Regions from separate parts of the Homo sapiens genome. Here regions 1 and 2 are each linked to region 3. Evidence: promoter capture Hi-C in human tissues and cell types (Jung and others, 2019). All regions are on one chromosome and are shown on one strand. Each heading gives the region's core, a stretch centred on a gene start or on the middle of the fragment in contact. The rest is flanking DNA. Distances are from core to core; before and after follow the strand shown. Region 1 overlaps NFXL1 (nuclear transcription factor, X-box binding like 1). Region 2 overlaps CORIN (corin, serine peptidase). Region 3 holds the start of CORIN (corin, serine peptidase).

Evidence for each region. The method cuts DNA at HindIII sites, captures the fragments that hold promoters and counts their contacts. A contact is called where the count stands out against the background at its distance.
Region 1: a contact is called between a fragment that was not itself captured here and the fragment with the promoter of CORIN in region 3, in 1 of the 25 tissues and cell types used here (hippocampus).
Region 2: a fragment that was not itself captured here is called in contact with the fragment with the promoter of CORIN in region 3 in 1 of the 25 tissues and cell types used here (pancreas).

What each region holds. Positions count from the first base shown.
Region 1 is chr4:47,876,261-47,879,942 of GRCh38, reverse strand. NFXL1 (nuclear transcription factor, X-box binding like 1) reads left to right here. Exons shown (of 23, transcript NM_001278624.2): 16 at 826-847; 17 at 1,278-1,418. All of the region lies in intron 2 of LOC101927179 (a long non-coding RNA gene), which reads right to left. Among named protein-coding and RNA genes, the nearest start is that of NFXL1, 36 kb to the left of the region's middle. The HindIII fragment of the contact is 5,360 bases long and covers 1-3,682 here.
Region 2 is chr4:47,779,594-47,783,282 of GRCh38, reverse strand. The region is part of intron 3 of CORIN (corin, serine peptidase); the gene reads left to right. Among named protein-coding and RNA genes, the nearest start is that of CORIN, 57 kb to the left of the region's middle. The HindIII fragment of the contact is 4,404 bases long and covers 79-3,689 here.
Region 3 is chr4:47,836,101-47,839,941 of GRCh38, reverse strand. CORIN (corin, serine peptidase) reads left to right here and starts at 1,875. Exons shown (of 22, transcript NM_006587.4): 1 at 1,875-2,055. The coding sequence starts at 1,993. The region is part of intron 1 of LOC101927179 (a long non-coding RNA gene); the gene reads right to left. The HindIII fragment of the contact is 9,769 bases long and covers 1-3,841 here.

The DNA.
Region 1 (3,682 bases), core at 7-2,506, 41 kb before region 3:
TTAGAGCTGTGATTCATTTTGAGTTAACTGTTGTGAAAGGCTTAGGGTCTGCCTAGGTTTTTTTTGCAAGCAGGTGTCTATTTGTTCCAGCATGAATCATTTATTGAAAAGAATTTCCTTTCTTCATTCAATTACCTTTGCTCTTTTGCCAAAGATCAGTAGACTATGATTTGTGTGGTTCCATTTCTGGTCTCTCTGTTCTCTTCCATTCATTTATTTGCCTATTCTTTAATCAGTACCATTCTGTCTTGATCACTGTAGCTTTATAGTAATTCTTGAAGTTGGGTGGTGTCAGTCTTTGGACTTTGCTTTCTTTTGTATTGTGTTGGCTGTTCTGGGTCTGTTATCTTTCTATATAGACTTTAGAATCAGTTTGTTGATATATACAAAATAACTTGCTGGGATTTTGATTGGAATCATGTTGAATCTGGATCAAATTGGAAATAAACTACATCTTAATAATTTTGAGCCTTCATAACTGTGAACATGGAATATTGCTTCATTTATTTAAATCTTTGATTTCTTTCATCAGTATTTTGTAGTTGTCCCATAGAGATCTTGTATATATTTTGTTAAATTCATACCCAAGTATTTCATTTTTTGTGCTAATGTAGTGTTATGTTTTTAACTTCAAATTCTAATTGCTCATTGCTACTATATAGGAAATCAGTTGACCTTTGTATATTAACTTCGTGTCCTGTAACTTTACTATAATTGCTTATTCCATATGTATTTATTTTTTTAATGCTAGTAGAGTTAGCATCTTTAGGTATTATTTTTGAATAATTTGTAATGTTTTCATTTTATTTTATTTTTTCCTTGTAGGGAATGTCTTGGGAAACATGAGGTAAGTTACAGGCACAATTTTTAAGTAAAGCTTATAATCTATACTGTTACATACTAGTATAACTTTACTAGAGTTGTTAGAAATAACAAAGTCAAAGTATTGTTATTTTACTGTTATAAAGAGTACAAGAGTTTATCTACTAATTTAAAAAATATGTAGTGCCTTTATTTGAGAATTAGCCTGTGGATATGCATTCACTACAGAATCATATTGAATTTTCCTTTTAGGAGGAGAACATTTTGCTTCTTGGCATTCATTACTTTGAAATATTTTGACAGGTTACTTTGATTTTGATATTATTATTATTCGTGCAAACTTATACCTTTCTGAAACTTGTTCTCAAATGATAGCAGAGTAATTTTGGAAACATATAATATGTCCAGAAACGTTTGAGTAATGTGTGCTGTGCTGATTTCCTTTATTTTTTAAGGTGAGTCCACTACCATGCCATGCTGTAGGACCCTACTCTTGTAAAAGAGTTTGTGGAAGAATCTTGGATTGTCAGAATCACACATGTATGAAAGAATGCCACAAAGTAACCAAAACTGATGGCTGCACTGGAAAAAACAAGGTAATGTTCTTAGATTGAATGTATATCTGCCCATAGTATTCTTGAAACGTTTTTTCAACAGTTATACCATAAATATTTTTCTGTTTTGCTTTAGCTTCCTGTCTCTTTTTTTGCCCTCATCCCTTCTCCTTCTTTTCCTTTCCTAAGACAGCTGGCCTTAGACAGCTTGGTGTGTATAGTTCTGTGTCTTTATTCCAGCTCATAATAATGTGCCTTTTAATGTGGAACCCTTTACATACTGTACCTGTGTTAATACATAGGATATGGTTTTATGATAAAAATACATAGGTTATGTATCTTCTTAGATAGTAAGTAAGAGTATCACCTCCATTTCTCTCTGTTCATATCTGAGTTTAGAGCATTTACTCTAAGTTAGTTTTCAAACCTGACACACAGGATGGATGATGTTCATAATTTTAATAAATTTAAATAAATTCCCAATCTTTTGTTAAAAGTAAAATAAATGGCATCACAGATGAGCAGTGTTTCTGTGTGTATAATTAACTAAAAGCATTTTACAAGTGTATGAGAACTCAGCTTTTCAAAGATCTCTGAAAATTGTCATCTTACAAGGAAAAACAAATGTAGCTAGTGTTAAACTTTAGTTTTAAAATAATTTTTTTCTAGACTTCCGTTCTGTAGGGAGTTGTAATACTAGTGTCTAAATGAGAAATAGGCCAGAAAATTTTAAGTGTCACTTTATTATTAACATTAAATTTACAACTATTTAAATTATTAATATGACTTATGTTATTGAAAATTTTAGTTGCGTCGTTAGGTTATTTTTTTGGTCTTTAATTTATAATACATGACAACATAGGTATTCTTCTTTTTCATGTGCAAACATGTGTAAATGTATTGCTTTTAATTTCTTCATTGATCCATGCCTTGACCCTCAAAAATGTACTCATGATAAAACAAAAAAGATGCTAGAATTATAAAATCAAACTAACAAATAATGATACAAAATCATTTTAACTAGTTAGGGTGTAGCTGCTGTATGGCTTCCCTCTTCCAGATTTCCAGAATACGGAGTGAGTCAGAAAAAGCTTATTTTCAAAGCTGATATGACTATTAGAGATTTATTGTGGATTATCCCCAAATTGCTTCCTGGGTTAAAGCTTCTGTTTTTCTTTTTAAATGAGAACTGCGTATGATATTTGACAGATGGACTTGCTGTATTTCTTAACTAAGATAGTCTTTCCTAGAAGATAGAACTTGATATTGGAAGTGATCCAGGAAGATAATTTAGTAAGTGTAGATTCAGTGATTTTTTTTGTTTCTGCCATAGCTGGAAGGAGCTCATATTCTAAGTATACTCTTTGTTTTGCAGATAGGGAAACTGAAGCTCTGTGATTTGTCCATGATTCTGCAACAGGAGAGTAGCAAATCAGAAAGTACTGTGCCTGATCTTTTAACTCCCAGCCCAATGTGCTCTTCTACTCATGTTATTTAAATAGAAGATTTTTGTAGGTGTACCACATAGGAAGAGCAAATGAAATAAACTCTTTAGGTGAACTTTGGTTCTTTTTGCATATTTTGTTACTCACTGCCTAATATTTGCTCAGTCTTTCCCATCTCAGAAAGTCATTTTACCGTTTTTACCCAGTTGTGCAGATCAAAGACATAGGAATCATGCTTGATTTCTTTCTTGTCTTTGTTGTCCTTTTCCCACAGAAAATCCTGTTAGGTTTGTCATCAATAGATCCTGAATCTGACAGTTTCTCATAACCTGTACCACTACCACCCTCATCTAAGCCACCATTACCTTTGACTTAGATTTCTGCAGTAATTTCCTAACCAACATTTCTACTCACTTTGTTTTACTGCATCAGCCAGATTAATCTTCTAAAAAATTTAAATCAAGTATCATCTTTCTGCTCCATATCCTTTGGTAGTTTTCAGTCACTCTCAGACCAAAATTTAAATCCTTTTCAATGGCCTGTAAAGGCTCAGTAATGATCTAACTCCTGACTATCTTTCCCAACTTTCATCTGACTTCTCATCACTCTCTTGCTTACTCACTTCTGCCTCTGTTCATCCTGTTACTTGAACATTCCACATTTGTTTTTTCTTAGACCCTTTGTACTTGTTCCTTTCCTCTGGAGCTCTCCTTTCTGGTTGTTCTCTCCTTCATTTAACTCAATTTCTATTCACATGTGATCTTTATCAGTCAGGCTTCCTTCTTGTTGCTGCCATCACTCTTTCTTATCCTGCTTTATCTTTCTTCAGAGTAGTTACGAAGACATTATATTCATGTTCTT
Region 2 (3,689 bases), core at 1,031-3,530, 57 kb after region 3:
AATGTTCATACTATGTTTCAGCAAGGACTTTTTTTAGGTTGTATTCTATATCTGGGTTTTTATTTTCACCATTTTTTCCTTATGTATTTTATAACTATTTAAATATATATTTAACTTTAAGGAAAGGGGAAACTTTTGCCAACCAAGATCTTTTGGGTAAAAGATAATATGGAACACAATAAAATAACCTAGTAACTCTGATGAGGAGTTAAAGTGACAAGAGAGTAAATTGATGTGCTGAAAGCTTAAAGTGTTCTGTTCTCTTATCACATCTTTGATAACCGGATCCTGAATCTTCTATTTCAGACCATCACCACTATCTAATTTTAGAATATTCTCATCATTGCAAAAAAAAAAGGCATATTCCCTGTCCCTTATTTCCCCTTTCCCTCAGCTCCTGGCCAAAACTAATCTAGTTTCAATCTCTATGGATTTTCTTATTCTGAAACTTTTATATAAAAAGCAACAGACAATATGTGGTCCTTTGTATCTGCCTTCTTTTATTTTGCATGATGTTTTCAGAATGCATCCGTGATATAGCATGTGTCAGTATTTCATTTCTTTTTAGTGCTGAGTAATATTCCTTCATATGGCTCTATCACATTTTCTTTATCCAGTCATCCATTGTTGGAAATTAGGATTGCATATACATTTTTTAAAACTATTATCAATAATGCTTCTGTGAATATTCACGTGCAAGTTTTTGTGTGAAAACGTTTCTGGTTCTCTTGGGTTTATACCTAGAAGTGGAATTGTGTTATTTCTCTGTTTCCTTACTTGTCTTCAGTCTAGTTGTTCTATCCATTATTGAGAGTGGGGTATTCAAGTCTCCAACTATTATTGTAGATTTGTCTGTTTCTTGTCTTTTTTTCTTTCTTTCTTTTTTTTTTTTTTTCTTGAGATGGAGTCTTGCTCTGTTGCCCAGGCTGGAGTGCAGTGGCACGATCTCAGTTCACTGCAACCTTCGCCTCCTGGGTTCAGGCGATTCTCCTGACTCAGTCTCCTGAGTAGCTGGGATTACAAGCACACGCCACTATGCCTGGCTAATTTTTGTATTTTTAGTAGAGACAGGGTTTTGCCACGTTGGCCAGGCTGGTCTTGAACTCCTGACCTCAAGTGATCTGCCCACCTTGGCCTCCCGAAGTGCTGAGATTACAGTCATGAGCCACTGCGCCTGGCCTTCTTTCAGTTCTATCAATTTTTTGCGTCAGACATTTTGACGGTCTGTCATTAGGTGTGTAAATATTTACAATTGTTGTATCTTCTTTTTATATTGAACCTTTTATTAATATAAAATGTCCTTCTTTATTTCTTCTAACCATTTTTGATTTATTTTTCTTTTTTTGAGATGGAGTCTTGCTCTGTTGCCCAGGCTGGAGTGCAGTGGCATGATCTCGGCTCACTGCAACCTCTGCCTTCCAGGTTCACGCGATTCTCCTGCCTCAGCCTCCTGAGTAGCTGGGACTACAGGCGCATGCCACCATGCCTGGCTAATTTTTGTATTTTTACTAGAGACACGGTTTCACCATGTTGGCTAGGATGGTCTTGATCTCCTGACCTTGGCCTCCCAAAGTGCTGGGATCACAGGAGTTAGCCACTGCGCCCAGCCACCGTTGTTGATTTAAAGCCTATTTTGTGGATACTGATTCTCCTCAACTTATTATGGAGTTATATCCTTATAAACCCATTGTAAGTTGAAACTATTGTAAGTCAAAAATACATTTAATACATCGAACCTATAGAACATTGTAGCTTAGCTTAGCCTTCACCTTAAATGTGCTCAGAACATTTACATTAGCCTACAGTTGGACAAACCATCTAATACAAACCCTATTTTATAATAACATATTGGACAGCTCGTGTATTTTATTGTACACCTTACTGAAAGTGAAAAACAGAATGGTTATATGAGTACTCAAAATACAGTTTCTATTAAATGTGTGTCACTTTTGCACAATTGTAAAGTTGAAAAATTATAAAAGTCAAACCATCATAAGTGAGTCATCCCACTCTCTTCTTTTGGTTATTATTTGCAGGGAATATTTTTATGTATCCTTTCACTTACAACCTATTTGTGTCTTTGAATCTAAAGTGAGTCTGTGGTAGACAGCATATAGTTGGATTATGGTTTTTTTAACCCATTCTGCCAATCTCTGTCTTTTGATTGAAAAAATTTAATCCATTAATATTTAAAGTAATTACTGATGAAGACCTACTTCTGTCATTTTGCTATTTGTTTTTTATATACCTTGTAGCTTTTTTTCATCCCTCATTTCCTGGATTACTGCCTTCTTTTGTGTTTAGTTTTTTTTTTAATATTGAAACGTTTAAATTCCTTTTTCATTTCCTTTGTCATATATATATATATAAAATCTCAAAGGATATATATATATTCGATAGCTATTTTATTTATGGTTACCATTGGCATCATATTTAACATCTTAAAGTTACAGCACTCTAACTTGAATTTATACCAGTTTAACTTCAATAACAAACAAAAACTCTGTTCCTTTAACTGCTCTGTCCCACCTCTGAAACTTTCAAACATTCAATAGAATCCAGAGTTCCAAAATAGTTATATCAGACAGATTCTGCCAGTGCAATTGTTGTCTAGGTGGGGAGACAGATTGCTGGTGTTTCCTATCCCACCATCTTTCCAGATGCTCTCTAGTAAAAAAAAATTAACTTTGACAGTTTTTTTTCCCAGTGTTTTCACTGCTTTTGTGGAGGAGTAGATTTTTGGAGGATCTTACTTTGCTGTTCTGGGATTATTTCCTACTCCTCAATTGTTTTTACCTTATTTATTCACTCTGATTTCTTCTTTTTCATTTCCTTCAATATGGGGAATTGATTTTTCTCTTTTATATAATGTATGAATGTGATTATGATATATATGTTATTTGTAATTGAAGTTTTTATTTCCCATTTTTGCATAAATTCCTTCATTTCTTCTCCTTTCCTCTGCCTAAGAAGAACCTAATAGCCAAATATGTATGATTTTATAGTTTTCTCCATCCTCTTACAATCTTATATGAACATATACACATACATGTACACAGGATAATATTCACATAGAGGATTTGGGTCATTGTTTTTATTACTTTTTTTTTTTTACAAAATATCTTTCCCATCCAAGAATACTTCAAGTTAGTATCTTCAAGGCAATAGCTTAATTCTAATCTATTGTTATAATGACTAAATAGTATTCCATGTTGTCATTATACCATAATTTATTTCAACCATTTCCCCAATAATGGGAATTCACTTTATATCTAGCTTTTTCCCCCTCAGTGAACTACATAGTCTTCTTTCTGAAGAAAAAATGATTTGGATGATGACCATGATGCTGTCTAAATTGCAGTGATTTATTTACATTGATAACTAGACATGGACCGAAATGCCCTAAACTCATACCCAAAAGTTACTGGGTGTAGAAAGCTTACGCACCAATTCAAAACCCTTAGGTTGTTCTTTCTTCTTAGTTTTATGTTTTTAACATGAGATGTTTTCATTAGCTTTAACATGAGCTCTACAAGAATATACAGCTGGCCAGGCACGGTGGCTCACACCTGTAATCCTAGCACTTTGGGAGGCCGAGGCAGGTGGATCACCTGAGGTCAAGAGTTCGGGACCAGCCTGACCAACATGGTGAAACCTTGTCTCTACTAAAAATACAAAAATTATCCAGG
Region 3 (3,841 bases), core at 626-3,125:
GATTCTTGACATTTTAATGAGCACACTGCATATTCAAATCAGTTTGAATATGTTTTGAGACTTCTAATAGTTTATGATTCTTGACATTTTAAAAGTTTATTATAAAGAATATAAAACATCTTTACCCTCATTTTTTATGTCATTACCTTCATGCAAAGAATACCTCAGGTATTAATTCTGGTGCTGTTGGTAACTAGAACTGGTTGGGTTTTCTTGCTAAAAGGAAGTTTAAAAAATGTTTATTTTACACCATTAATGCAATTAGCTTTAGTTCTCAGAGGAACTAAAAGTGGAAAAGTGAGGGAGACTGATCGACCCTATCTCAAATCCACTGACGTAGCTACTTTAATTTCATAGTCCCTGTAGCACCTCCACCAGAGGGCAGAAAGTGGAAGAGAAAGAAGATGAAATAGAAACTTGTACTTGGCCTCAGAATGCCTGTAGAAACCTTAGCAATTGAATCCAGCCCTTATGTTATAGGCTGAGTTAACTGTGGCCCAGAAAGACTATGTGATTTGCTCACAGTTCTTGATTCCCAGACTGGCACTGCGGTGATGGTGTGTGATGAGGTAGTATCTTAGTAAGAACACAATCCAGAAGTCACTGCCTCGGGGGAATCCCAGCTCAGCTTCTTGCTAGCTTGCGTAGGCTGGTTACTTCACTTCAGCTCCCTGAATCTGCTTTCTTATCTCTAAAATAAAAATAATAGCTTCTTCCTCAGAGTAGTTGGTGGAACTGAAAGAATACATGTAAAGTGCTTAGTATGACACCTGCCACATAATATGAACTGAATTATTGTGAATTATGATAAATTTGTCAGATACTGGTTTACAAATCGGATGTTAGAATAACATGGAATCAGTGTTTCAGTCATTTTACTATACATATGCAATATTTTCTACATTTGATCTCACTTCAGAAACAAAATACTGCCCCCCCCATTTTACAAATGCATATTTTTTTCTCAGCAATAATGTTCAAGAACAAGTGCTTGGCCCATATTTTGTTGTCTTTACATGGCTTTCTTTAAATAATGGGGATGGATTTATTAAATAACCTCATGAGTAATTTTCAAAATTTCCATTAAGATCTTGATTGAAATTGGATGAAAAATCATTTCTAAGAAAAACCCAATGAAGTGTTTTTCTTTGCCACATTTGACAATTGCCTTGGACTTGGTAAAGTAATCATTACTGTGTTGAGTACCTCCAGTGCCCTCCTTGACGCTGCCTTAGAAAAGGTAGCTGCTTTTGAATGACAGGCAGGAATTTGTTCGCCTTTTAGGTTCAGCCTGTAGGTGCCCTCTGCAGGAAATCAGGAACTAGGGTTTTGGAAGCAGTCAGGGTGGGGTTCTCCCTTGTCCCTGCAGCCTCAGCAAAGACTCAGGCAGTCTGGCAAAAGCAGTTTCTTCAGCATACCTAACAGAACGCAAGTTTCCATATGCCTGATGCAAATAATGGCCTCCAAACGTTAAACCTTTTTTGAGATAAACTTGTTCTTTAATTGCCAGCGCCTGCAGTTAATTTTGATTGGCTACACTCTGGTTAAAAGAAAATGCTTTCGATGTGATATGGCAAATTTGGAGAAAAGTAACTCTTTTGCTCCCAACCAGTCTTCCACAACTTAAACTTAATCGTCCTGTCCTTTTCTGCTGCCCTCGTGGAGTGTAAGTTTTTGAGGGAGACCAGCAGAAACTGACTTTCCATATGCCCCTGAAGAATAACTTCTTTGAATGCAAAGAGGTGGGGACACGGAGGATCTGTCATTACGGGTTATTATGGGTGGGACCCAGAGACGGGAGTGAAGGGAGGGTGTGGCCCGCGGGTGGGATCTGTAGAGCAGACAAAATATGGGGCCCCTGGCGCTTAAAGTTCAGTTTGTCTCTCTTGAGCTTGGAGAAAATCATCCGTAGTGCCTCCCCGGGGGACACGTAGAGGAGAGAAAAGCGACCAAGATAAAAGTGGACAGAAGAATAAGCGAGACTTTTTATCCATGAAACAGTCTCCTGCCCTCGCTCCGGAAGAGCGCTGCCGCAGAGCCGGGTCCCCAAAGCCGGTAAGATCGATGATTCGCTGTCCTACCGCAGCCAGGTGTGATGGCCTCTTAGTCCCGGTGAATTCAGGGTCAGCCCCTCCCGCCCCCGTCCTCTCCTCCGCCCGATGCCACCTCCTTCCCCAGCCGCCGGTGAGCTCCCGCTCTGACAGTTCCGCGCTCAGCGCCCTGCACCCAGTTCCCAGGCGCACGGCCCTGGTCCCGACCACCACCCCGGTCGCCCGGCGTCCGAGACCCTCCCAGGGTCATGGGCAGGGTTTCCTTCAGTGTTCGAGTCGGCTCGATCCGGAGACCCCGGTCTCCATGCCGGGGGTGATGCCACCTTTCCTGCAGAGTCCCTCCTCCGCACGGTGCCCTCCAAGCATCTAGTGGACTTGGCTGCACACTGGCGGCAGGGGAGGCTGCAGGTGGAGCTGTCGGAGCCAGCCCCTCGGGGATCTACAGCTTCCTGTCTGCGCCGGCGTCTCGGGCGCCGGGTGGCTGGAGGGACTGTGCAGCAGTCTTGCCTGCCCCAGACGTAAGCCCCCTTCCCCAGCTGCGAGCGCCTGGGTGTCGGTCCCTCCACAGCCCGGGCTCGCGCTTGGTTCCCCGGCCCCCAGTTGGTGCCTGGGGATCACTCGCCCGTCCTAAGTGCTGGCATCCCAGAACTGGCCCTCTTGCAGAGTGCTGGGAACTTGTAGGTCCCTGCGTGCAAACTTTCTCCGGCGTGAACCTGCCTAGGCACAGGAGGGCTGGCCGCCGGGGGCGCAGGCTCTGCGCTGTAGGATTTGGTTGGCTCAGATCCAGTCCTGGGAAGGGGCAGCGTTGGCTCTCGTTCAGGAGGAGAAAGAAAGGGAAGGGCACCACGGACAGTCCCTACTGGCCTGAGCCCCCAGGAAGAAGGTCTAATTTGCGGCTGCCCCTCTCCTTCGGTGTCATTAGGGCCCCGGAATCCGCTTGCTACCGCGAGGGTCCCAGCTGCTCCGAATCGGGGACCGACCGGTGACGCTAGCTGCAGGCAGAGAGGGCAGGCTGTGCGGGCGGAAGGGAGGTGGTGTCTTGTCGGATCTTACTGGGACCCAGTTCCTGAGCTCCCGTGGCAGGCGCCTCACTCCTGCTACTACCTGCTCGGGGCCAGTGGATGGCAGTGTACGCGCTTTTTGCACGGCTCCCGGTTCCTGGGACCGAGCCCTGGGAGCTCTGACTTTGAATTCAGCAGGGAAGCTTCGGGGCTGGGCATTCCCAGGGAAGCTGTTCGAGTAATTCATAAAGTGGAGCTTTCCTCCCGCGGGAAACTTCTGAGAACGATGCGCTGCGAAGACGGACTCCTGTACAAGACTTCGATGACTGACATAGGCACAATTGTGGCTTCTAGTTTTTATTTTAACTTTTTATTTAAAGTAACTTATCGATGGAAGCGAAACTCTGCAAAGGAACGTCAGACCGCTACCAGAAAGGGGGTGAAGTCAGGACTTACTGGTGATTATTGTCCAAGGACACATTTAAGCAGATAGTTTTGAAATTAATTTTGGCATAACCCTGAGACAATGAGAAGAAACAATGCATTTATAAAAAGTTATTAAACCATTTTTTTTTGTCACAGTCAAAACATTCATTAGCTTGTTTCTATTATTAGGTGCCCAATAGGTTTGTTGTGTGAGATTGTGCTAAAAATTGGTCCTCAGATCCTGGGACTTGAGAGGTTAGAGGAGGTTCCTGGGGCTTGCGAGGTTAGAGGAGATGTCTGCATAGACTCACGTGTGGGCTTGGCTGACCAGGCAGGTTTTCCATAGAATGCTTTCCAGGACAC